Regions from separate parts of the Homo sapiens genome. Here regions 2, 3, 4, 5, 6 and 7 are each linked to region 1. Evidence: promoter capture Hi-C in 16 types of primary human blood cells and fetal thymus (Javierre and others, 2016). All regions are on one chromosome and are shown on one strand. The core of a region is centred on a gene start or on the middle of the fragment in contact, and the rest is flanking DNA. Distances in the headings are between cores, read along the strand shown.

Region 1 (2,632 bases), core at 49-2,548:
GTCTCTACTAAAAATACAAAAATGGGAGTGGTGGTGCATGCCTGTAATCCTAGCTACTTGGGAGGCTGAGACAGGAGAATTGCTTGAACTCAGGAGGCAGAGGTAGCAGTGAGCTGAGATCGTGCCACTGCACTCCAGCCTGGGCAACAGAGTGAGACTCTTGTCTCAAAAAAAAAAAAAAAAATGGGTGGGGAGGGGGTACCTAGGTGGATCTTTCTGCACTTGGGGGAAAAAATATCTCCAAAAAGAAGCTCTACAAAAGACAGGGGGTTTTCCAAGGGAAGTATTTGTAGCTCAGAGGCTGATAACAGTGTTCATGCCCTGACTGAATTAAAGTCTCCTAGAAATCAAGAAGAAAATCACAGAGACCCCAGCATGGAAATGGGTGCAGCATGTGAGCTGTGAGTGCCCCAAACACAGATGGCCCAGGAACTCAGCAAAGGCTTCCACTTCTTGTTTGACCCAAGAAATGTCATGCAAAGGTGAGACAGAACAACTGCAACCAACTGGAACCATGAAAAATAACTGTAAATGATAATGCCACAGCCAATGAGGGTGGAAAACACAAACTCAATTTTTTAAGGGAAAAAGAAGCTGGCACATCTGAGGGGGAAATTTCTGTCTGTCAGTCCAGAGTCTGCCCTACCAAACACTGACCTTAAGGCCCTTGGTATTCCTCACCTAGAACTGCCTTTTCATTTTCTAATTTAAAAGTCATTTTCATTATTATAGCCATGGCTGTGGCCATGTATTGAACTCTTAAGTGCCAGATGCTGGGCCAGAACATGCACATTGTGCCATTTGATTGTCATAACAATCCCACTGAGATAGGTGCTATTAACCCTATTTTACAGATGAAGAAAGCAAGGCTAGGTAAGATGGAATGACATGGCTGAAGTCACCCAGGCAGGAAGTGGATCGGGATCCACGGGCTGAGCTCTTACCATCAGAATGTCTTGGTCTTCCCCATTGAGGTTGTTGAAGTCCTGTGGGGGTGAAGGGAGAGAAAGGCCCATGAGGCCTTTTGGCCTTAGGCAGCCACCACCCCTCACTGCTGCAGGCCAGTCTTATCCAAGCTACTCACCAGCAAAGGCAAAGGTGGCTGCTTTAAGTGTGTTATAATTTCATCGATCATGTTAGAGCAGTTAACCCAGCTTGTCTTCAAGGGCGTTGTCTGGGTCATGGGAGCTTGGAGTCCGGGGCGGACCAGGAGTTGGAGCAGGAGCAGGACGGGCAGGCGGCTCATGTTTGGATCGGCAGGAGGCACTCTGTCTTGTTCTGGTCCTTCGTGGGGCTCTGAAGAGTTGGCAACAGCCTCCCGCCTTATATGTGCAGCAGCAAGGTGCCCACAACCCCGGGCAAGGCGGGGGGAGGTGGTGGTGTGGGGCAGGCGTCGGAAGGATCTTTATCTGACATGGAACCTCCATAGAAAACCACAGACGTAATTATTCATCCATGACTTTCTAGTACTCAAGATCAGTGAAACAAGAAAAAAGATTACTTAAACGGTATCACTTCATCTTGTCAAGGAGGATGAGAGATGGGAAGCATGGCAGCAGGTGAGAGGACCCCTGTGGCAGGAAGGGGAAGCCTGACTCAGCTCACTGAGGCCTCCTGCCCAGTGGGATCTCATCTGCCATCACCTGGACTACCCTGGCCCTCTGCTGCCCGCCCTGCTTGGTCCTGGTGGGTGGCCAGGAGGCCACTGGAACAGATGAGAGTTTGTCTGGTAGCCGGTCACGCTGCTAAACATCCACGTTCAGCCTCAGGCTCTGAGAAGCACATCTCTTGGTGCCGCTTCCCAATACAGAATTACTGGTGTTCCAGTCCCCAGTGGTTTGTCCCATGGGCTTCGGGCAGCTTCTCCTTGACACTTTGTTTCTGGTGGATGGCCGAGGGCGCTCAGGCCCCAGGTGGCCATTCTCTTACTGGTCTGCTAGCAGTGGCATGGCTGTTCCCTGCGTGTGGGACTCAGCCTCTGCAGGAGGCCCGGCTGCAGCCCCTGGCAGTCCCTCTGGTAGCACCGAGAGCTGAGCTCAGGTACCTGAGGACACTGTCACTGGGAGCTGGGGGAGGGGCTGGCCTGGGAGGTTTAGGAGGCAGAATTGGCATGGTCTGAGGGGTGAGGTCAAGGGAGGAGAAAGGAGAGCAACTCCCTGGTTTCAGACTGGGCCTCAGGCTGCTGGGGCAGGGATTGGCAGGAGACAGTTGTATTGAGAGGTCTTGATCCCCGTCTGTGCTGAGCATGGATTTGCCAGGTGCAGGCCCAGTAGGCAAGGTTTGCAGAGAGGGGATGTGAGTGGGGACAGACCATGGGGAAATCCACAAGGGACCTGAGAAACTGCAGCCAGATAGGAAGCAGGAAACCCAGAAGGGCGGGGGTGGTTATCCCAGAGGGCAGCCCCTGAGAGAAGAGGGGTCCTCCTGATACGGGCCTGTCTTGGGGCCTGCCTGACCCACCCCATGGGGTAGGGGCTTTTGGTAAAGGGATGAGTGTGACAGGGGCATGTGGAAGACTTCTTCAAGATGACTGGCCCCGGGTGGGAGGGAGAGGAGAGCAGTAAGGAAAGGCCAGGGTCTGGGTCATGGTGCGGTGTGTTGTGATCAGTGTGGGGGATGCGGGATAGGAGGT
Region 2 (2,632 bases), core at 66-2,565, 630 kb after region 1:
TACTTATATGGAATGACTCTACTTTGAATTAATATCATAATCAACTGTTAAATTTATGCAACAGTCATGGTGTCGCATTTAACTACTAAAAATGTGAAGGTGAAATGTGCTGATTTTATAGTTACTTGTCAAATTGCATTATAGGTTGGGTTTTTAGCTCATTCATTTTTTTCCAACTTTTTTTTTTTTTTTTGAGATGGACTCTTGCTGTATTGCCCAGGCTGGAGTGCAGTGGCATGACCTCGGCTCACTGCAACCTTCGCCTGCCAGGTTCAAGCAATTCTCCTCTCTCAGCCTCCCAAGTAGCTGGGATTACAGGTGCCTGCCACCATGCCCAGCTAATTTTTTTATTTTTAGTAGAGATGGGGCTTCATGTTGGCCAGGCTGGTCTCAAACTTCTCACCTCAGGTGATCCACCCACTTCGGCCTCCAAAGTGCTGGGATTACAGGCGTGAACCACCGCACCTGGCCAGAAGTAAAGTTCTTGAAGGAATTAGTTCCTCCGTACCAGCAAAGTTAAAGTTTATATGCTAGGACTGAGAACTAATCTGCCCAGGAGTGCCAGAAAACATTGGTTCATGTCTCAGAGAGAAGGTGAAACAGCCCTTAAACAGATGGCCCAAATGTCATTTCTATGTAAAGTCTCCCAGTTTACAGAGAATCGGTGTGTAGGGTGAACTTTTAAATGTTTCTGATATCTTTAGGGCTGGTGTGACTTCAGGAGTTGTCATGTACTTCTGTGATATGGGGGCTGAATTGCAGAAGGAAGCTTGTCATCAGTGTCATCTCCTTCAACTCTCTCGTTCTATTTAATGTTTACAGGACTTAATATAGTTGTTTATGTATTTTAAAAAGAGGTTTGTTTATTAAACTTTTAAAAAATGTTTTTGATCTGCCATCATTCAAGTTTATTCATTTTGTCTATTTTTAAGTTGTATTTTGTCATTGTAATAAGTTTGTGGGGTGGTTTCTTTTTTTTTCCATTTCTTTTTCATTAACATTTTCATTGCTTATTTTTCATGCCAGTGTACTGTGTCACCTCACCCAAGAAGGACGATAGGTATAGGGAGCCACCTCCCACTCCTCCAGGATATTTGGGGATTTCTTTAGCGGACCTAAAGGAAGGACCCCACACACACCTAAAACCTCCAGATTATAGTGTGGCAGTGCAGAGGTCAAAGATGATGCATAACAGCCTCTCTAGACTGCCACCAGCTTCTCTCAGTAGCAACCTCGTGGCCTGTGTTCCATCGAAGATTGTAACTCAGCCTCAGAGGCATAATTTGCAGCCATTCCATCCTAAACTAGGAGATGTGACTGATGCAGATAGCGAAGCAGATGGTATGTTGACAAGCTCTCTTAAAGGCTCTTAAATGAATTGCTGAACACATTAAATGGTCTTTACTTTGGTATTTTATGGTAATTAGTAATTGTTTCTTTAAATGCCTTGAATCTCTGTTAAAAAGTAAGAAGTTCCTGCCGGCAGGGTGCAGTGGCTCACACCTGTAATCCCAGCACTTTGGGAGGCTGAGGCGGGCGAATCACCTGAGGTCGGGAGTTCCTGACCAGCCTGTCCAACATGGAGAAACCCCGTCTCTACTAAAAAAATACAAAATCAGCCAGGCATTATGGCGCATGCCTGTAATCCCAGCTACTCGGGAGGCTGAGGCAGGAGAATTGCTTGAACCTGGGAGGCAGAGATTGCAGTGAGCCAAGATCGCACCATTGCACTCCAGCCTGGACAACAAGAACAAAACTCTGTCTCCAAAAAAAAAAAAAAAGTTCCTAAATATAGTATGGGGGAGTGTTTTGGTTTTGTTTTATTTTTCAAGATAGGGTCTAACTCTGTTGCCCAAGCTTAGAGTGCAGTGGCACAATAATGACTCACTACAGCCTCAGACTCCTGGGCTCAAGCAGTCCTCCCAACTCAGCCTCCCAAGTAGCTGGGACTACAGGTGCACACCAGCATGCCTGGCTCATTGTTAAATTTTTCCTTTGTAGAGACAGGGTCTCACTATATTGACCAGGCTGGTTTTGAACTCCTGGCCTGAAGCAGTCCTCCCACCCCAGCCTCCGAAAGTGTTGGGATTATAGGTGTGAGCCACCACACCCAGCCAATGGTGTGGGTTGTTTGTTTGTTGAGACAAGGTCTTGCTGTGTCACTCAGGCTGGAGTGCAGTGGCATGATCGTGGCTCACTGCAGCCTCAACTTCCTGGTCTCAGGTAATTCTCCCTCCTCAGCCTCCCAAGTAGGTGGGACTACAGGCACACACCACCACACCCAGCTAATTTTTTGTATTTGAGACAGCATTTTACCATGTTGCCCAGGCTGGTCTTGAACTCCTGGACTCAAGCAATCTGCCAGCCTCAGTCTCCCACAAAGTTGGGGTTATGGGTGTGAGCCACTGTACCCCGCACTGATGGTGTATTTTTTAAATGAAATGGGCAAGCTGCCTATTTCTGTGTGCCTAGTACCCTGTGGCTCAAATGGAATATTCTTATCTTTGATGAAACAGTGGCTCAATCTAATGGGATACTTTTAACATTAATGGAATTGTATTTTACCTTAATGCATGGAAACTTGAAACTGTGTTTCAAATGCCAAATTATCTGAAATGATTCTATTGATATA
Region 3 (2,632 bases), core at 57-2,556, 610 kb after region 1:
ACATCCTGATTCCTGAAGACATGATGAATTTGTGACCCTGCCAGACCAGTTTATAATATACTAAGTACTAGCCATACTTCAGTAATGAGCAAAGGAGAAAAACTGATGAGGAAATTAATAAACATGGCTGTTTTCTTGGGAATGGCCTGGATTGAATACAATAAGGTATTGGGGGAAAATAAAAAACATCTTTTTTAAAGATTGGACTGAATTTTTCCTGAATCAGTTTTGTCAGCCAGTGCTAAAATGTAATACCTTTCTTTAAGCAAACAATGTCCATTTTGGTGGTGTATGAGTATCTAGTTTGGACAAAGTAACCCCTTTTAACAGTAATCAATTTGCAGACTTAAAAAATAGAATCTTTAGTCAATCAAACAGGAATGTAAAGATATATAGTATTATGAAGATTTTAATGATATGTTTTTTCTTACATTTTAAGTTGGATTTGCTGGTCAACATTTCTTACAAGACATCTTGTCAGAAATTTCTGCACTTAAAAATGAAATTTTATGTTTTTATGTCCCTTGTAATTTCATTCTGTCACTTAAATGAGTGGCCCAAAAATCTTGCCAGCAAGATGTTCAGAAATTCTATTCCTTTAAGGTCTTTTCCCTTAAAAACTTTGAATTCAAAATTTATATTATAGTAAGTAAATGTTTTTCCTTAAGCTTCTTATTTATATAAGCTTCCTGATGAATTAGGTATTTAAAATATAATTGGTCTAAAGCATATTTTTATAAAGTATTTTGGAGCTTTTTTGACCTTCAGTATATACTCATCTTACCCTCCTGCCTTCCATTTAAAGTCATTTTACTGTTAAGCTGTAATTTTTTCCTGATAAAATGTTTCTGTTCTTTTCTGTCTGCATAGTTTCTCTGACTCTCAACTGTTGTCTTTTTTCTGTGCTTTCCTATTCAAACACATGCTTCAATGTTTGTGGCTCTTGCTTACAGGAAGAAGAGGTGGCGGAGTCTGGGGTAAGTGTAGAGATGAACGCAACTGGAATGAAGGTTGTGCGACTCTTAACATATATTGCATCCTTTTCATTAATGCACGCACATAAAATAGCATGAATTCTATTAACCCTGTCAGCCTACATTCCTGACAAATGCCTTCTGCTAACAAGGTGAAAGTAGTGATAGAACTAGCTATTTTTCCTTTATTTTTCCACTATTGATGCCCTATAAGTCCTTTTTAGATTTTGATTTAGCTAGGTCAGTTAGATGATGATAATGATAGTGAATATTTGTTGTGTGCTTGCTATGTGCCATACATTGTTCTAAGCACTCTAAACGAATTATCTTACTTAATTCTACTACTACCCTATAAAGGAGATACTTTTCTTTCCATAGTATGGATGGGAAAGGTTGAGTTGCCTAAAGTTTTAGTTCATTAATGGTGGATCCAAAACTAGGTAGTCTAGTTCTAGAGTTCACACCACTTTCTTTTATTCAAATGCCACATTTTATAAAAGTAAATATATCATATAAATATATAAAAATGAATGAAAGATGTTTGTGAAGGTTGCATTTTCCATCAGTTTTCTAAAAAGAGGCAGCCCTTATCCAAGCTGTACTATAAAATTGAACTAGAAGATGATTTTATTTCCTCAGACCCACTAATGCCACTTACTTGTAGCATTGACTGAATTTTATTTGAAATTTTTACCAGCTTTAATTGAAGATTCCCTTATCTTTAAAGTTGTGATAGAATCAGCAACTGACACTATTTGTTATAGAGTTAGGTCTCTACTTCTACATAGCTAAGTGTCTATTTAGAATCATAGAATGTTAAAGATCTTATATATCATCTATCTAGTCCTTTCATTTTTAGATGAAGAAAGAGATGACTTTTGTGGATGAAGGGATTGCATAAGAAGAATTTTGTTATTTTAAGACTTGTAGTGAACCATGAAGTTAGAAGCTTTTATTACATGTAAGAAGAATTTTTTGTGAGCCACCTTCTTTATTCGAGTCTTGCCTCATTTGTGGTCTTATTTTCTGTTAATGCTTGGTGAACTTGACTTTCCTTCTATTTTCTTTCTCCCTTCTCTGTGTGTTTCCCATGTGTTTTCTTCTGGATCGCAAATTTATGTCTTGGTCTCTTTTGGCTCTTCTCACTGAAAATAGAAATTGATACCTGGCATTACTATTATAAAGAAGAATACTTGGACAATATCTTTTAGTGGGCATTGGGTGTGTTTGAATGACTTATGTTAACATGTTTCACGTTCATTCAGCTTTAGGGTTACACTGTATGATGCTTACAAACATTAGGTATATTTATTTTATATCAGCAATTTTCTGTTTTCAAAGTAGTTTAGAAAACATTTTATCGACGTTTATCACAGTGTTTTTATTTGTTAGAATTTTGTGTCTCCTAGATTTGTCAACACCTACTTTTTTATATTAACTAAGATAAAAATCATTAAATATTTGTGTTAAAATTTGCTCCTAAATAGCTGCAACTTGATTTTACTGCATTTCTTTGAATTCAAGACAACGTCAATTGTTGGACATATTGTTATTTTATCTACTACTAAGGAAAATCACTGCAGTATCCTGTTACCACTGAGAATTTCTACTTTATGCTTATTGAAGGAGCTCTTATGGACTTGGCTATGGATTTTTAT
Region 4 (2,632 bases), core at 37-2,536, 590 kb after region 1:
GCAAGTACTAGGCAGAATGCTGCATTTGATAAAATATAGACAAGAATTAATAGTAACAGAGCATTGGTTTTAATGTAAGTACAACCCTTAGAAGTAGTTTTTGGTTATTGATGTTGATGGAAATTTTTTTCACTGCTATCTTATGTTTTTATAGGACTGTTTTGCTTAAAAGTAAGCTAAAATTTGGGGGTATCTAAAACCTAAGTGACAGTGTTTGTTTCTTTGTTTTTATTTTTTCTCTAGGTGGATTTAGAAGTTGCCTATGTCACATTTCTAAAATATTTTAAAGGAAGAATATTTTGTTTGCTTAAATAATTAGACTTGAGAGATTAAATAAGAAATAATGTACCCTTAGAATGAACTTTAGAGACTGTAATTTTCATAATTCTATTTTTTTTCTGGTCCAGTGTTTAAAGACCACTCTTACTTTGTCACTTGACCTTGGCCCCATTGTTATCTATTACCTGCCATAGTTTTTGGTTTGAATGTAGACTCTTTTTCCTAGAGGATCACCAAGATTTTCTGGAGAAAGGGAAAGAGAAAGAGAACACCTTGCTATGGTGTGGCTGTGCATATTTGGATACATGTATTAGTGTCCACTAAAACTGGCAAATTTGAAGGGTTCCCTAAATACTCAGGTTCAGTTTCTTCACCCAAACTGGTAGACACTAAATAAGACAATTTAATTAGGATGTAGTAGAATTACTTAGATGTATAAGTTAGATTTTATTTTAATGTAATTGTTAAAAATTTTAGTGCCATTTTCATCATTACAATTGTCTTTTAAAAATTGCTGTAGTATTTCAGTTGTTTAAATCACCTCTTTGAATTGGTTCTTTTATGCCTTAGTGCACAGGGAACAGAAACGTTTACTACTTAAGTACTCTCAAATACTTTAAAGTGATATATGACATTCTTTTGAAGTGATGGAGGCCTAAGCCAATCACAAGATGACAGCATTGTGGGAACAAGGCACTGTAGGCATAGTCTGGCTATAATGCCCATCCCTGGAACACTCTCATCCAGCAGCCCTGATCTCCTGCAGCCTACCACCAGTATGTTGGATTTTTCCAATCCTTCAGGTAATTTTCATATGTGATTTTATATTGCCGTATTGGTACCAAATGAACAAATAGATGGTTAAGCCTTGTGCAGCAAGTGCTAGAGTTACTTGCAGCCCTCTTAACTCTAGATTATGACTTGATGCAAAAAACTAAAGGGAGATTGACTTGTTCTGTTAATTTGAATGGTACTTCCTCTAAAGTGAAACAGAAGTACATAAAAAAGAGACTACCTCTGGCCAGGCGCAGTGGCTCACGCCTGTAATCCCAGCACTTTGGGAGGCCGAGGCGGGCGGATCATGAGGTCAGGAGATTGAGACCATCCTGGCTAACATGGTGAAACACCATCTCTACTAAAAATACAAAAAATTAGCCAGACGTGATGGTGGGTGCCTGTAGTCCCAGCTACTTGGGAGGCTGAGGCAGGAGAATGGCGTGAACCCGGGAGGCAGAGCTTGCAGTGAGCCGAGATCGGACCACTGCACTCCAGCCTGGGCGACAGAGCAAGACTCCGTCTCAAAAAAAAAAAAAAAGAAAAGAAAAAAGAGACTACCTCTAACCACAGAATTAGGTATCTTTTAGTAATCCTAATCTAAGCAGTAGAATGAAAACAGAGACACTTCTCAGGCAAGATATATCTTACCCAGGGTGTGGAAAAGAATAAGGGAGATTATTTTAATCTAAGTGGCCTCACTTACCTTTTTCTATAATACACAGAAAAGTGTTAGTAATTTTGTAAAAGCAGATTTTTCCTCAGACACTTGAAGCTGAAGTTGTATTTGTCATGTATTGTTATCAGAGCGTTATAGCATAATTTTCATTGTTGTTTGGACTTCCAGTGTGGGATGTCAAGTTATTTTTTTTTTGCGTCTATTCATGTCTTGAGGCAAAAATTGTCACAGTTATATAATCTAAAGTTTTGTTACAAAGAAGAAAACTTTCGACTTTGAATAATTATATATCCATCACTTAACGGATTTGAGATGGTTTTCAATAAAAGGCATATACAATTAAGCACTGAAACATATAATTGGGTCCAAGGAAAGGTGGGAGAAAAAATGCTTCTACAAAGATAAGCATAGTTCTGATTCACCTTCAATTTTGACTCTAAAGTTCCTAGCAGCTAGTGTAGAAAGGGAGGAAACTTAGTTCCATCTCGGTATTAGAAGGAAATATAAGTACAGTAGTAAAGTTCATGTTTTATTATAGCAACTTAAATAAAAACCTCAGGACATAACCTAATAACAGTTTAGTGAAGGTCATTCTGCACATGGTTTCTTCCTTTATATTTCAGTTGCCACTTAACCACTAGAGCGATTATTAAACCCAGTAACCTGTTCTGGCACATCACACTCTCTACATGGCTACCAGTGTTCTTTTTAGAACAAAGATTTAATGAGTCATTACTTTCCTAAGACATTTGTAGTGATTTTTATATTAGTGAAATGTCATTCATGAGACAGAAGACACTCCAGTTATTTGATCCGAAGTTAATGTGAAGATTGTTACCAAAGTATAAAGTTAATTAAACTATTTACCGGAAAGGGTAAAGGAAGCACTAAGATATCACA
Region 5 (2,632 bases), core at 97-2,596, 560 kb after region 1:
CTTTTAATAAATAAAGTACCTTTTTATTTTTAATAGATTCTTAGATAAAGAACATTGTTAGTATTAATGTATGTTTACCACACAGTTATTCTAAACAATGAAATTGTTTGGATGACTGCAACAAATTGAAGGTTGGGTGTTATGGATAACAGTTTTTATATCAGGCTTAACATCTTGTTTGTTTCTGTATTTGTTCTTGTACCAACCTTTGAAAAAGCTACAAAGGGTAATAAACATTGGTTCAGAAGCTCAAAGAAGAGCAGTATGGAAATTTTTGTTTATATTCTTTTTTTTTTTTTTTTTTTTTTGAGACAAAGTCTCGCTCTTGTCGCCCCAGCTGGAGTGCAGTGGCATGATCTCCGCTCTCTGCAACCTCCACCTCCCGGGTTCAAGCAATTCTGCTGCCTCACCCTCCTGAGTAGCTGGGATTATAGGCGCCGGCCACCACACCCAGCCAATTTTTGTATTTTTAGTAGAGACGGGGTTTCACCATGTTGGCCAGGCTGGTCTTGAACTGTGGACCTCAGGTGTTCTGCTCTCCTTGGCCTCCCAAAGTGCTGGGATTACAGGCATGAGCCACACCACGCCCAGCCTGTTTATATTCTTTTATAAAGTTGGAAACAAGCATTTAAAACTCTGAATTAATTTCAAAACTGTCTGTAGAACTTCTGGTTCCTCTCAATATGGTGACCTAGCATGGAGAGGAAACTGTATGAGAGGAACTGTAGAAAAGGAAATATTTATTCTGGGAAGTAACAATAATGAAACAGGCTCTCTTGAACTGGTGTGTTCTTCCTACAGCCTGGTCAGAAAAGATTTTTGAGGTGGATTAAATTTGGAGAAAAGCTTTCTTTTTTCTTTCTTCCCTTTCATTCCTTTCTTTTTCTTTCTTTCTTTAGTTTAACTTTCACCTCTTTTGTTGCCTTGAGACAATAAATACATGCCCTGGTTGTAGGAGAAGTGGCAGTAACAGCCCACACCAGGGCTAAGTTAGTGAAGTTCAAAGGTCCTGCTATGATGAAATGCCAGTGAAAACAGCTTCAGCTGAGTGAGTGCTGTTGGCTATTTATTTCTCTGCCTTTTCTGTCTCTCAACCTCTGGGTGCTGGTGGATTACAATTAAGTTTGCATTCCAATTCTCCCAGCGCTAAGGATTTAAAGGCGAAACTGTACTTTGACGATTTGTCTAATGGAGTAGCTACAAAGCGGAGTAATCAACAATAGTTCTTTGGTTCTTGGGTCATTTGTTTATTTTCTAATCCTTCCTATCCTTGGATTTTTAGGCAACACCTGAGCGTCTCATAATGCATTTAATAGAAGAACATTCCATCGTGGATCCAACTTATATAGAAGATTTTCTATTAACTTACAGGACATTTCTTGAAAGTCCTTTGGATGTTGGGATCAAACTATTGGAATGGTTTAAGATCGACAGCTTAAGAGATAAGGTTGGTTTTATAAGGGGCATGAAAGTGATTTTAACCCAAAATTTTATTCATGAAACTTTTATAGTTGATAGATTACCTGTTTATTATGATAATAAGATTCAGTACACCTAAAAAAATTAATGAACCTGAACCATCAGTATAAACATTCTCTGCTTACTTTTATGACAGAATAGCATGCTAAAAGTGGACGAGAGCCTTAAAAGGCAAAAACTGAAATAAAGCTCTGGTATAGCTATAGGTTCAGGAAACATAATAGTTACATGAGAGTATTTTAGAATTTTACTGAAATACTTGATTGTTTCTGGAGATCAATAAAACATTTTAAAACGGATTTAATATTTTAGAAAGAATATTCATCAAATACATTTTTTTAAGAGGGCAGATTGCTTTTAAGCTTCAAAATGGGAATATTTTTATTTTCTTGAGTTACAGACTTCACAATCATTTGAAAACAATTTATCAAACCTTAATATGTCTCTCCTGTGACTTATTTAAATCTACCTTTTGAGTATTTTTTTGTATTAAATGTTGTTCACTATTTTAAATAAATTAGCTTATTTCATGGGATATGTTTGCACATTTAATGGAAAGACTAGTAATACTTCCACAAATTGGTAAGAAATAAGTTGTTTCAAGAAAATAAAAGTAGGATCATAATTGTCTGGTGTGTCTTTTTGAGTTATATTTTAAAGGAAATAAACTAGTTGCAGGTAAACTGCAGAATTCTTTTATTTAGGAGACTAACATCTAAAACTACAGGCTTGCACACCTCTCACCCTTTTTCTTAGAATTAAATATATTTACCTTGGTTGCCAAGAAAATAAAGGCATGCTTTGGAAATGAACAAGAATATGATTTAGTGATAATTATCCATATGCAAAAGAATGAAAATGGATTACCACCTTATACTATAAACAAAAATGTACCCAAAATGGGTCAGAGACAGAAGAGCTAAAACTATAATGCCTTAAAGATAGGGGTAGATTATCATGGCCTTGGATTTGGCGTTGGTTTCTCAAATATGAAAATATGATACCCAAGCACAAGCAACAAAAGAAAAAAGAGATAATTGGACCTCATCAAAATTAAAATTATTTTTGCATCAAAGGACACTGTCCAGAAAGTTAAGACAATGCACAGAATAAGAGAAAATTATATATCTGATAAAGGTTTAATATCCAAAAT
Region 6 (2,632 bases), core at 66-2,565, 540 kb after region 1:
AGAAAATATTCTTAGGAGAAAAAGTAACGTCAGAGGCCAGATACTGTGTGTGTGTGTATGTATGTATGTACTTCAGGTTTTCTGTTTGTCTTAGTACTAGGATTCGTCTGAATTATCTAACATACCATTATCAGCAGGGGAAGTTCGTGATGTACTTTATGTGTAATTTTTATAATTACATTAACTCCTCTTGAGATAACATAATTCAGACTCAGTCATTCCCTCAGAATACATTTAATATACACTATGTGTGTGTTTCTTTAATGTTTTTCATTAGTAAAGCAATGAGGAACCCTATTTTAAAAATTAAATTGATTTTGATAGCCCTGAATAGCAAGTTGCAGAGAAATCATTTGGAAAATAAATTAGCATACTTCTTATGCAAAACTTTTACTACTCTGGAATGCAGTGGTTTGTTTATTGTCTTAATTTCTGTAGCTTGTATTTTGTGAGATGTCTCTTTTACGGCATGAAATATATTGTACAGCCTGCATACCTGGTAAGAATGCGACCATATTAAAGATGAGGTGGTGGAGTCATTTACTTTTTGTGTTTCTTGTATACCTGTGCCTAGTACAGACATTCATTAAATCATGTTGATTACTAAGAAATCTCTCAGGGGCCAACTAGAAGCTAATTCAATATTAAGTGTAAAGATGCTCACAGAATTTTTGGAATATTTAATGTAATCAACTTGTTACTGGTCTTAAGTCTTGCTGCCAGTAGCTGAACTTGATTCCAAGATATTGCTGTTTTATTCTTGTATCAGTCACCATTTTTTATTAGGAGGGAGGGAGGGAGAGTGAGTGTGTGTGTGAGAGAGAGAGAGAGTGTGTGTGTGTGTGTGTGTGTGTGTGTGTGTGTGTGTGTGTGTGTGTGTGTAGGGTAACATTCCTACCCTTAAATGGACAGGTCTGATATTTTTATTTGGGAGGATAGAAGGGCCAAGTTTTTCCTCTGAAATATCATTAGTAATGGCTTTTGAAAACTGTTCAGTGAGCTTACCATTGTAGGATTGTCTAATAGTTTCAGAGAGTACCATATGGTTCTTATTTCAAAAGATCTTTTTGCTGAAAGTAGAGAACTTGGGTTAAAAAAGAGATTGCACAGTAATGTACATAAAAATTTGTTGAACATGTCGAAACCGCTTAAAAAGGTAAAGCTTGACATTTAGAATAACTTAAATTATTTTTTTTTTCAGCTTCCAGCTGATCTTACCAAGATGCATCTCACAGAAAACCCTCATCCACAGGTGACTCATGTGTCTTCTAGTCAGTCTGGTTGTAGCATTGCCAGTGACTCTGGAAGCAGCAGTTTATCTGATATCTATCAGGTAATACCTTAGGAATTTGTATGCTGCGTATATGGTTTTTTTATTTGCCAGATATTCTGTGATTGTGCCTTAGATGGTTAACATATCTTTTAGAGTATGAAATTCAAGCGTAAGGTCTTTAGAAAAATAAGCTTTATATACTGTGTCAAATTTGTAAGCATGATTAAAGACGTGATCTGTCTTTTGAGAATGATTAAGTATGGTTCAGCAGAGTATGAATCTAGTGTTCTCTTTCATTTATCCAGGTGAATCCATATTAATATCTAATGCTTGTTTTGGTTAAAAAATTAGTTCTTGGAATAACTGAACTTAAACTTATAAAAAGGCTGATTTTTGTTATAATTGACTGTATATGTCTTCTGTAGTTAGAAGTCATGAAGAAAATTAGAGCTGCTTTTCTACCATAAAGCCTCTGTTGTAGTCTAGCGTGAATTAAATAGCAAATTAGTGAGAATATTGATGGACTTTTCCATTTTCTAAAACCCAAGAGGAACAATTTCAAACCTACTGAGCTTTTCAGTGATCATTGTAATATTGGGGAGAAGGTTCTAGGAAGACCCATAAACTGAGAGAATCCTCACATGATCCTGCTGAGATTGAACCCAAGTTAGGTTCAAGCCAGGGTAATAAGTATTTCAGGATCCAGATAGTGGAACTTCTATGATGTCTTCTTTAATGCAAGTTGTAAGGAGCAGTTCCCTGGGTGTGGAGCCCAGTGGTTGATTTTGTCAGAGATCATGAGTATAGAACATAAAACAGTTTAAATAAAATAACAAGAGGATGCATGATATTGAGGGTTGGTTTGTTAAGGAATTCAAATATATTACCTATTTCAGAACTGTCAAATAGAAATTTAATGTGAGCCACGTATTTAATTTTAAATTTTCTAGTAGCCACATTAAAAAATATAAAAGGAAACAGGTAAAATTCATTTTAGTAATATATTTTATTTAGTGCAGTATAACCAAATACTATAATTACAACATGTATTTAATGTTTTAACATTATGCATGAGTTACCTTACATTACTTTTGCATATTAAGTCATCAAAAAACAGAGTTTAATTTAAAGTTACAGCACATCTCAATTTGGACTAGCCATGTTTTAAGTGCCTAATAACCACATACGGCTAGTGGCTACCATATACTAAGAATTGTAGAAATAGTATCATTGTCTGAGGAAAGCATTTTAGACTGGTTCTACAAAGTTACCCAGATTGAGATATTTTAGGAAAATAGCCTTCTTCTATTCAGGGAAGTTTGTAGGCAGATGCAAAATGGAACAAAGACAATACCCATT
Region 7 (2,632 bases), core at 86-2,585, 520 kb after region 1:
GCTTGTTAACATTGTGAACTTTATTTTGTATTTGTGGGCTTGATAAATCCTGATTGTTTTTAATATGGTATTTCATAAGTACTTTCAGAATGAAATAATGAATGAATAAACAGACTTTTGTTACTTCTAAACTCAGGAAGTTTGCAAATGGGATCTTTGATAATCTTATTTGTATATAAGACAGTGAATGCTGATCACACTACTACTGAGAAGTTTGGATCCCCACCTCTAAGAATCTTCAGCTTTTCAATATTGCTTCTCTTCTCTCTTTATTTACAGCCCCAAATACTCTGAACAGGTGTATATTCTTTGTGATTCTTTCTACCTTAAAAACAAAAGAAGACTTTCTGTTTTTGTTTACGAGTATCTAACATCCTTTAGGAGAATACTCCTCCTTTATCTTCTAGGAAATAATATGGAATTCTTGATAGGTTTTTGTACCTAGTTAGAAGGTATTGAGTCCACAAATAGACAAAAAGCATAGAAGTGATACAACTAAAACTAGGACAAATGCCAAGTTAGAGCAGATTTTGTTTTAATTTTGTGAAGAAATGCTTATTGTAGAAATGTAAAATATATAGAAGAGTATGAAGAAGGAAATGAATTTGCTGTCATCCTCAAAACTGGAGATAGCTACTGTCACTTAAAATTTTTTTAATGTACCATGGTCCCTCAGTATCCATGGGGGCTTGGTTTCAGGACCCCCTGCAGATACTAAAATTCGAGGATGTTCGAGTCCCTTTTATAAAATGGTGTAGTATTTTTGTGTAATCTATGCACATCCTTCCATATACAGTCATGTGTTGCGTAATGACAGACCACATAAATGACATCAGATTTTGCTGCCTGTTTTTACTGTACGTTTTCTGTGTTTAGATACACAAATACTTACCATTGTGTTACAGTTGCCTGCATTATTCAGTAGAGTAACATGCTGAGCAGGTTCATAGCCTGGGAACCATAGGCTGTACCATGTAGCCTAGGTGTATAGTAGGCTATACCGTCTAGGTTTCTGTAGCTACACTCAGTGATGTTTGCCCAAGGATGAAATTGCCTAATGACACATTCCTCAGAATGTACCCCAGTTGTTAAGCAATGCATGACTGTATTTTGAATCATTTCTAGATTACTTATAATACCTAATACAGTGTAAATGCAGTGTAGATAGTTGCTATACTGAAATTTGTAGTTTTTTTTATTGTTGTAGTGGTTTTTTGTTTTTGGTTTTTTAGGTTTTATTTGAGACGGTCTCGCTGTCAACTAGACTAGAATGCAGTGGAATGATCACAGCTCATTGCAGCTTTGACCTCCCAACTCAAGGGATCCTCTCACCTCAGCCTCCTGAGTAGCTGGGATTATAGGCACATGCCTCCACACCCAGCTAACTTTGTTTTTTTTTGTAGAGACGGAGTTTCATCATGTTTTTCAGGTTGGTCTTGAACTCGTGGGCTCCAGCAATAGCCTGCCTCGGCCTCCCAAACTGTTGGGATTACAGATGTAATCACCACCACCCCCAGCCTCTACTGTTATTTTTAATGGGATTTTCCCAAAATATTTTCTGTCTGCAGTTTCTTCAATCTGCAGGTACAGAACCCATGGACACAGAGGGCTGACTGTATATATCTTTTGATTAATTTAAATATTTTAATTAATTTAGATGATGCTGAATGTTTAGTTATGTATCCTTGTGTTTGTGTTTCTCATGCAGTTAAATTTTTTCCAAAACATTACTTTCAATATTAATATAATGCTGTATGAGTGTAACGAAGTATTCTCACGTGGCTTCCAATTTTTCTCCTATTACAAACAACTTTTAGGGAAAAATCTGTACATGACTGATTATTTCCTTAGGATTGAGTTACAGAAATTACTGGGTTAAAGGTATGAAAATTATTTTAAGTTTCTACATGAATATTGGTAACTTCTCAATAGGCATTTTAAAATTGTCTTTATTATTCACTATGTATAAAATGCTTGAGTACTGAGAGGACCAGAGCAGGGCATGCCCCTCTGGTTGTCTGGGGCAGTTCTTCCTCCCTTAATGGTGTGACACTAATTCAGACAGATTTGCCCAGGGAACCAGAATTAGGAAGACTTTTTATCATACTTGAAATATTTTATGGAGTAATTGCTAAAGAAGGAGCTTTTGATAATTGTTTAAAGCAACTCAGATACTAATGTATACCAGTGGTCTAAGACTGATTATGACAGTGTTCCAGTTGGAAGGGGAATAACAACTACTCAGACATAGCAAACAAATTAATGCTGACCTAACGTTATTACCTTTTAGTTTGATTTGGTATGTGTTTATTAAGTGTGCTATCTTGTGTATGTGGCTTTTACAGTGCTAGAAAATGTAGTATTTAAAAGTAGAGAAGGGACGTAATGGTCATCTTTATGAACAAGGGATATAAAGGAACCCAGGAATTCACAGATAGTTTTAAATGAGAGTTCATTTTTTATCATTTATATATGTTACTCTCTTTTTGAAGAAAATTAATACGCTGTTTGAAACTTTAGGTTTGCATATACTTGAGTAACTATATACAAAATGTATCCTTTTGTGCAGGTATGAAGATGCTTGATACGCAGTGTAGACGGAAAGCAGAAGCATAGTGGTGCCTTTTATTGT

What was found. The method cuts DNA at HindIII sites, captures the fragments that hold promoters and counts their contacts. A CHiCAGO score of 5 or more calls a contact.
Region 2: a contact is called between a fragment that was not itself captured here and the fragment with the promoter of IL3 in region 1, in 2 of 17 cell types (erythroblasts and endothelial precursors). The highest score is 6.1, in erythroblasts.
Region 3: a fragment that was not itself captured here is called in contact with the fragment with the promoter of IL3 in region 1 in 4 of 17 cell types (neutrophils, endothelial precursors, erythroblasts and 1 more); the score reaches 8.2 in neutrophils.
Region 4: a fragment that was not itself captured here is called in contact with the fragment with the promoter of IL3 in region 1 in 1 of 17 cell types (neutrophils); the score reaches 7.0 in neutrophils.
Region 5: a contact is called between a fragment that was not itself captured here and the fragment with the promoter of IL3 in region 1, in 1 of 17 cell types (erythroblasts). The highest score is 6.0, in erythroblasts.
Region 6: a fragment that was not itself captured here is called in contact with the fragment with the promoter of IL3 in region 1 in 2 of 17 cell types (neutrophils and naive B cells); the score reaches 6.5 in neutrophils.
Region 7: a contact is called between a fragment that was not itself captured here and the fragment with the promoter of IL3 in region 1, in 1 of 17 cell types (neutrophils). The highest score is 8.2, in neutrophils.

The regions. Positions count from the first base shown.
Region 1 is chr5:132,059,321-132,061,952 of GRCh38, reverse strand. IL3 (interleukin 3) reads right to left here and starts at 1,298. Exons shown (of 5, transcript NM_000588.4): 1 at 1,085-1,298; 2 at 945-986. The coding sequence starts at 1,246. It overlaps LOC105379174 (a long non-coding RNA gene), which reads left to right. Exons shown (of 5, transcript XR_001742531.2): 2 at 345-482. The HindIII fragment of the contact is 14,005 bases long and covers 1-2,632 here.
Region 2 is chr5:131,427,611-131,430,242 of GRCh38, reverse strand. RAPGEF6 (Rap guanine nucleotide exchange factor 6) reads left to right here. Exons shown (of 28, transcript NM_016340.6): 27 at 1,027-1,341. Among named protein-coding and RNA genes, the nearest start is that of CDC42SE2, 160 kb to the right of the region's middle. The HindIII fragment of the contact is 1,088 bases long and covers 772-1,859 here.
Region 3 is chr5:131,448,368-131,450,999 of GRCh38, reverse strand. The region is part of intron 21 of RAPGEF6 (Rap guanine nucleotide exchange factor 6); the gene reads left to right. Among named protein-coding and RNA genes, the nearest start is that of RAPGEF6, 190 kb to the left of the region's middle. The HindIII fragment of the contact is 1,238 bases long and covers 688-1,925 here.
Region 4 is chr5:131,471,037-131,473,668 of GRCh38, reverse strand. It overlaps RAPGEF6 (Rap guanine nucleotide exchange factor 6), which reads left to right. Exons shown (of 28, transcript NM_016340.6): 17 at 925-1,082. Among named protein-coding and RNA genes, the nearest start is that of RAPGEF6, 160 kb to the left of the region's middle. The HindIII fragment of the contact is 3,156 bases long and covers 1-2,632 here.
Region 5 is chr5:131,497,258-131,499,889 of GRCh38, reverse strand. RAPGEF6 (Rap guanine nucleotide exchange factor 6) reads left to right here. Exons shown (of 28, transcript NM_016340.6): 12 at 1,283-1,447. Among named protein-coding and RNA genes, the nearest start is that of RAPGEF6, 140 kb to the left of the region's middle. The HindIII fragment of the contact is 995 bases long and covers 849-1,843 here.
Region 6 is chr5:131,520,091-131,522,722 of GRCh38, reverse strand. It overlaps RAPGEF6 (Rap guanine nucleotide exchange factor 6), which reads left to right. Exons shown (of 28, transcript NM_016340.6): 7 at 1,202-1,333. Among named protein-coding and RNA genes, the nearest start is that of RAPGEF6, 110 kb to the left of the region's middle. The HindIII fragment of the contact is 302 bases long and covers 1,165-1,466 here.
Region 7 is chr5:131,536,697-131,539,328 of GRCh38, reverse strand. The region is part of intron 6 of RAPGEF6 (Rap guanine nucleotide exchange factor 6); the gene reads left to right. Among named protein-coding and RNA genes, the nearest start is that of RAPGEF6, 97 kb to the left of the region's middle. RefSeq lists an enhancer at 2,554-2,632 and a silencer at 2,539-2,632. The HindIII fragment of the contact is 2,663 bases long and covers 4-2,632 here.